Linked DNA regions of Homo sapiens: region 1 is linked to region 2. The links are contacts of gene promoters, found by promoter capture Hi-C in human tissues and cell types (Jung and others, 2019). All regions are on one chromosome and are shown on one strand. The core of a region is centred on a gene start or on the middle of the fragment in contact, and the rest is flanking DNA. Distances in the headings are between cores, read along the strand shown.

The links. The method cuts DNA at HindIII sites, captures the fragments that hold promoters and counts their contacts. A contact is called where the count stands out against the background at its distance.
Region 1: a contact is called between the fragment with the promoter of ITGB4 here and a fragment that was not itself captured in region 2, in 2 of the 25 tissues and cell types used here (bladder and lymphoblastoid cells).

What each region holds. Positions count from the first base shown.
Region 1 is chr17:75,720,013-75,723,754 of GRCh38, forward strand. It overlaps ITGB4 (integrin subunit beta 4), which reads left to right and starts at 1,447. Exons shown (of 40, transcript NM_000213.5): 1 at 1,447-1,600. RefSeq lists silencers at 1,010-1,069, 1,080-1,469 and enhancers at 1,190-1,728, 1,729-2,267, 3,182-3,733. The HindIII fragment of the contact is 11,256 bases long and covers 1-3,742 here.
Region 2 is chr17:75,518,040-75,521,337 of GRCh38, forward strand. It overlaps TSEN54 (tRNA splicing endonuclease subunit 54), which reads left to right. Exons shown (of 11, transcript NM_207346.3): 6 at 956-1,008. Among named protein-coding and RNA genes, the nearest start is that of TSEN54, 3.2 kb to the left of the region's middle. The HindIII fragment of the contact is 6,204 bases long and covers 1-3,298 here.

The sequences.
Region 1 (3,742 bases), core at 197-2,696, 200 kb after region 2:
TGGCGAGATTCCTAAACATCATTTCAAACCAATGTGGCAAATGCCATGTAAAAGCCATGGCCCAAGGGTTATGGGGACACATAAACCAACTTGGGGTGTGGAGAGGTCAAGGAAGGCTCTCTAGCACGTGGTTGGTGCAACGTCTTCAAGGACAAGAAGGATAAACTGGGCTCAATGTCATGGGAAGGGACCAGCCTGTTGAAAAAGCACGGTGGCTTGAAACCGCATGGTTTGGACAGTGCTGTGCCAGCAGTCTGGTGTTGTTTGGCATTGCTGGCCAGTAAGCCTAGAGAAAAATGGAGCCCTGGCTGGGCATGGTGGTTCACGCCTATAATCCCAGCACTTTGGAAGGCCAAGACGGGTGGATCACCTGAGGTCAGGAGTTCGAGACCAGCCTGGCCAACATGATGTACTAAAAATACAAAAATTAGCCGGGCGTGGTGGCGGGCACCTGTAATCCCAGCTACTCGGGAAACAGGCAGGAGAAGCGCTTGAACCCGGGAGGCAGAGGTTGCAGTGAGCCAAGATTGCACCACTGCACTCCAGCCTCGGCGACAGAGTGAGACTCCATCTAAAAAAAAAAAGAGAGAGAAAACAAAAAGAAAAAGAAAAATGAAGCCCTTCTCTGACCTGAACACCCGTGGTAAGCAGTGGCAATGGAGAGACTGCTCTCAGAGGACTGACGGGAGGGAGGGGCCAGCTCTGTAACCAGCTTGTTAAGAACAACTGTAACAAGGCATCGAGTGCCAATCCATGCCAGGTCGGCACTGACCTCTCCAGGGTATCACTGTTCACACTGTAAGGAGATTTAAGTAGCTTGTTGAAGGGTGCACCGAGGACCCGACCCTTCCTCGGCTCTCCCTCTGGATACAACGTGAGGTTAGGGGTTGGAGGCTGAGAGGACCCCGTGAACTGCAGAGCAGAGCTGGGACGGGGAGTCAGGCCTCCCGACCGGGCCGGGGGCACTCCCTGGGCCCATGCCTCGCGCTGGCACGGAGAGCGGGGAGGGGGGTACGCGGCTGACGACCGTCGGGGCAGCAGCAGCAGCACAGCCCGGCGTTGGCTAGCGGCCCAGAGTCGGGGCAGGGAGGGTTCCCGTGCGGACGGGGGCTAAGAGGCCGCCTCCAGCCCGGGGCAGTCCGCGCACCCGAGCCTGGAGCCCGGAGCCTGGAGGGGTGGGGAGGCCCCGCGCCCAGGGCCGGACCGGAGGGAGAGGGAGAGCGGTGGCTCCTCCCCCGGCCCCCGCCGCTAGCCGATCGGGGCGCTGGGCGGGCGCCGCGGGAGCCGCAGCCCTTTCCGGGGGGCGGACCCGGCTCCGGCGGCGGCACCCAGCTCCTGCCCCGACAGGTGCGCGCCGCGCGAAGGAATGCAGCCGGTCTGACTCACCAGCGCCTCCTTCCTACCTGCGCGCCCGCCCCATAAAGCGCTGCCCGCCTCGTCCCCACCCCCCCAACCCCCGCGCCCGCCCTCGGACAGTCCCTGCTCGCCCGCGCGCTGCAGCCCCATCTCCTAGCGGCAGCCCAGGCGCGGAGGGAGCGAGTCCGCCCCGAGGTAGGTCCAGGACGGGCGCACAGCAGCAGCCGAGGCTGGCCGGGAGAGGGTGAGTGCCCGCCCCAGCTGGGCAGCCGCGCAGGGGAGCTGGTCGGGCAGGGCCGGTGGCTTTTGTCTCCCCTTCCCCTCCCTGAAGGCTGACAGGCCCCGGTCCCTCTGTCCACGCTGCGCAGGACAGGTGCCCAGCCTCCCCGGGGTGCGCCGGGGGCAGCTGGCAGCCAAGGGGCAGGGCAGCTAGAGAAGGGTGGTGCCCATCAGACCTCCAGGCCAGAGGAGCGCCTTGGGTGCGCCTGCGGGAGAAGTGGGCAGAGGCCAGTGGCTGGTAGCCCTCTGGGGCTGGGCCCCTCCAGGGTTTGCAAAGAAGGTGGAGTAGACACCAGCCTGAGTGCTGGGCCCAGCCCATCATGGCGCATCTAATGATAAACCAACATTCCTGACTTTTATGTGAAATTTCGTTCTTTCTAACATTGGCTCCTACTTTTAAAAGCCACCCTGAGAGGCAGACGCCATCCCGGCTCCAGGCAGGGCTTGCTCTATGCGGTGCCACAGTCCATCTGGGGCTGGGGAGTCCCTGATTTTCCTTTTCTCTTGGCCAAGCACAGGCCTGCCTTCCTCCCAAAGTCAGCCCCAGGCGCCTTCCTTCAGGAAGCTCTACAGGCCTCACCCACCAGCCCCAGGGCTGTGCCCAACACTGCCACCTCCTGCAGCATCCGCCCTCTTTCCCATGGCTCAGCCTCTGGGGTGGCCCTCTGGCTGGGACTGGGGCTCTGGGGCTCCTGGTGACTCCCAGGAGCAGGGACAGGGCTTCTCCTCTGCCCCCATGGCCTTGCCACACCCTGAGGACAAGGACCAGGCACAGGTGGCATGGTTGTTGCTGTCCGAAACAGAGCTGGCAGTGAAGGCTTGGAGTCTCCATCCTGGGGGCTGAGGGAAGGACAGCAGGAGGGACAGGAGGGGAGGTATGTCTGTCTACTCGACCCTGATTTCTCAGGGAGACAGAACAGCCAAGGGCCTGGGGTCCCCAGACTTCTGGCCAGCTGCCTCTCTGGGGCGAGGAAGGGCCTGGGTCCCTGAGGGGAGGAGATGTGACAGCGGGAGAGGATAGTGGACAGGAGCAGGTGTGCCCAGAGGGGTCCCCAGGGGTTGGGATGGGGGCCAGGGGAGCTCTGAGCCTGTGGGTGGGTGGGCATGGCCTGTGTGTGTGTGTGTGTGTGTGTGTGTGTGTGTGTCCCTGTGGGGGGGAAACTGCCTGTGCTGCAGTGTGATGGCATTCAGGGTGGCAGTCACACACTCCAGGGACCTGCTGGTACATAAAGTCGGGGCAGCCTGGTGGGGTCCGGGCCGCCTGGAGAGTAGGTGTCCTGAGCGCTGGGCCCAGCCCATCGTGATACATCTAATGATAAACACAAATTCCTAACTTTTATGGGAAATCTCGTTGTTTCTAACATTGGCTCCTACTTTTAAAACTTTCTAAACAAATGAAGCCAAACACTCTTGGGTGCCTCGCCAACCCTCTAACTGCCATTTTGTAGCTTCTGCGTGGAGGCTGCCATGGAGGTTAAAGGCAGGGCCTGCAGAGCAGGGCCCTGTCCTGGCCCTCCCAGTGCTGTCCGCGGGATGGGGAAGTTCCACAGCCTTCTGTGCCTGGTCTCTCATCTGGGAAACGGGCAGAATGAAATCATCTCCCGCCGGGCTCCTGTGCTGAGCAATCTCCTCCGTGAAGCCCTGGGCTCATATGGCAGTCACAGTGTGGGAATCAGCACTGCCTGAGGGGCTGTGGCCAGGGACAGTGGGAGGAAGAGCTGGGCTCAGCTCTCCAGGCCTGTACCTGCCTGTGTAATGATGCCTGGGAGGCCTGAGCCTGCAGCCTGTATTGTGTAGCATGTGGGTGTGGCGGCTACACCCCGAGGCTGCAAGGAAGTCATTTCCCTCTAGGAACCCTGCTGTCCCCACCCTTTCCCTGCTGGCTCAGGGCTGCCTCCCAGTCCCTGTGCCACAACAGGTCTGACCTGCATGTGTTGGCGCTGCTGTGGCCTCCTCCAGGCTGCACGCCTTAGAAGCAGGCTACGCCTTCCTGCCCTTGGCCTGAGAAGGGCTTCTCCAGCACCTCGGGGACCCCAGCCCCCAGACCCTGGGGTGGCCACTGCCCCAGAAGCCGGGCTGAGACAGGATTCAATGGGGAGGGCCCGTG
Region 2 (3,298 bases), core at 89-2,588:
GATTACCGCCCATGATTTGGGCATGCACCAGTGGATGAAGGTGCTGTCATTTTCTGAGTGGGAAGAATGAAGAGGAGCAGATTTGGGAGGACAAGACCAGTCGAAAGAACTGTGTCAGATAAGTTAATTTTGAGGAGCTTCTTGGACATCCAAGTGAGTGTAAAGCAGACAGACAATTGGAATCCAAGTCTGGAGTGTGAGGAGAGGTCAAGGCTAGATGTAAATATGGGTGCCATGAGCACATGGATGGTATTTAAACTACTGGGCTGTATGGGAGTGCCATCAGAGTAGAGGGCTGGGTCTGAGCCCTGGGGCTCTCTGTGTAGGTTAGGGGGCAGATAAGAAGCAGAAACAGACCGAGGAGTGTCTGGTGATGCAGGAGAAAAACCAAAGTCGCATCACAGAAGCCAAAAGAAGGTCTTTCAAGGAGGAAGTGGTTAGCTGTGCTAAAGCCTGCTGAGATCAAGCAGGATGGGGGACATTCTTATCTATGTTCCTCTGATATGAATGCAGGGACACAAGGTTGAATATGTGGCTCCCTACCAGAAACTTCCCACCGGCATCTGTGGAGGTGTGGGGCTGGAGAGATGCCCACCACCTGCCATCATTTTGTTCACATGGTGATCGGCAGCTTCACTCCTATGAGCTTTGTATCAAAATACTCAAGTATTTCAGGGCGTGGTGGTTTTCTGGTTTCATGGCTATCAGTTTTTTTGGATTTGGCTAAATGTCATTTGTGCCGAGTAAGGTAAGTGGGAGGACAGGAATTCAGAGCCTGAGATCTTTAGGGATGGTGTTCGTAATGAAGCATGGTCCAACCTTAATCACAGGGTTTAGAATCTGGGGGTGTACAGGAGGGGCAGAGAGGGCTGTGGGGATGGCCTGTGTCTGGAGAAACCATTTGGTGTTTTCCAGAGTGGCCATCTGAGCTTTCATTTTTTTTTTTTCTTTTGAGGTCTTCAGCCACCTGAAGAGGTTGGGTTATGTGGTTCGACGATTCCAACCAAGGTAAATCCCCTTCCTGTTCCCCTTCCATATATTCTAGTCCTGGGACCTGGCTGACTAGTCTAAGGTAGAAAATGGCCTCTCCTTACCTGGAACCCTTGGCTGGAGTGCAGTTCCTTGGGCACAGACTGGGGGCGCCTGCTGGAAGCGTTCTGAGAGAGGCAGGTTGGGAGGAATCCAGGTCATTTTGTTTTATTCTGGTTTATGAACTCGAGCCGCATCTTCAGATGACCTGCGCCTGCAGCTGAGTGTGTGTGAGCACTGAGAGGCAGGATTGGAACAGTGCCTGGCACTTAGTAGGTGCGCAGGCAGGTATGTAGAGTGTATGCTTAAATGAAGGACTGGGTGAAGAATTTACCATTAGTAGGGTTTCACATTTTTCATGCCAGGTTAAATGTTTTTTCCTTCATCACCTTAGTAATCCAGCATTGGTAAAAGGCAGAGACCTTCAGACTTGGAGTGGAAACGGGTACAGCTTTTGCAGTTACAGTATGTCACAAAAGCTCTAAAGCAGGCACATCTTTTCTTTTCTTTTTGAGACGGAGTCTCACTCTGTCGCCCAGGCTGTAGTGCAGTGGCATGATCTCAGCTTACTGTAGCCTCTGCCTCCTGGGTTCAAGCAGTTCTCCTGCCTCAGCCTCCCAAGTAGCTGGGATTACAGGCGTGTGCCACCATGCCTGGCTAATTTTTTTATTTTATTTTATTTTTAGTACAGATGGGGTTTCACTGTGTTGCCCAGGCTGGTCTCGAACTCCTGACCTCAAATGATCCTCCCGCCTCAGCCTCCCAAAGTGCTGGGATTACAGGCATGAGTCACCACGCCCAGCTCTACATCTTTTCTTTTCTGAAAGTGGAACCTATCCTAAGGAAATAATCGTGGACGTGTACAGTGGTTCACCTGTGAGAATGATCAACGATATTTATTATTTGCTGGGGGTCAGGCCCTGTACACATCGCTGAGAACAGAAGAGCAAAATCACTGCCCTCACAGAGCTTGCATTTAGTGAGGAGTCACACAGAACACACTCACTGTGCAAAATCAGTGTACTTGCAAACAAGAGTTGAACAAGAGGCAGGCTCACACAAATGAGAGGTTATCCCTTAGAGCAGCTCTGTCCAATAGAACTTTCTGTAATGATGAAAATGTTCTGTGTCTGTGATGTCTAATACATGGGGCTAGAGCAACTGTGGGACTGAATGTTTAATTTCATTTAATTTAAATGTATTTAAATCTAACTTAAATAGGCTGGTGTGGTGGCTCACGCCTATAATCCCAGCATTTTGGGAGGCCGACGCGGGCGGATCGCGTGAGCTCAGGAGTACGAGACCAGCCTGGACAGCGTGGTGAAACCCTGTCTCTACTAAAATACCAAAAAAAAAAAAAAAAAAAAATCAGCCAGGTGTGGTGGCAGGCGCCTATAGTCCCAGCTATTCAGGAGGCTGAGGCACGAGAATTGCTTGAACCTGGGCAGCTGAGGTTGCAGTGAGCCGAGATCTTGCCAGTGCACTCCAGCCTGGGCGAAAAAGCGAAACTCTATCTCAAAAAAAAAAGCAAACTTAAATAGCCACCTGTCGCTAGTGGCTCTTTTTTGAACAGCATTGCCTTAAAGCCTTAATTCACAGCCAGGAGGCCAGGCACAGTGGCTCACACCTGTAATCCCAGCACTTTAGGAGGCCGAGGCAGGTGGATCATGAGGTCAGGAGATGGAGACCATCCCGGCCAGCATGGTGAAACCTTGTCTCTACTAAGAATACAAAAATTAGCTGGGCATGGTGGCACGCGCCTGTAGTCCCGGTACTACTCGGGATGCTGAGGCAGGAGAATCGCTTGAACCCAGGAGATGGAGGTTGCAGTGAGCCAAGATTGTGCCACTGCACTCCAGCCCGGTGAGAGAACGAGACTGTGTCTCAAAAAAAAAAAAAAAAGAAAAAGGAAAAAATTCACAGCAGGGAAGAATGCTGCAGTGACGGGGCTGTGTCCACAATATATTATTGAGTGAAAAAAAAGATCACAAAGCAGTATGCTAGTACAATGACATTTTTGTTAGAAAAAAATATATGGAGAGAGATTAGTGTGTACATAAACGAAAGAAAGATGTTAACAATAGTTATCCAAGGTTTTTATTTTTCTATATTTACCAAGTTTGCTAGCTCCTCTGGGCCATTGCCTAGGCAGAGGCACATGGCTGGGCCCCCTGGCTGGGCCTGTACCCCTCATGGGGGTCTGCTTAGGGCCTTAGCACTTGGGTGTGGCTCCGATCCTGGCCCACTGACTGTCCTCTTGGCCCGTTTC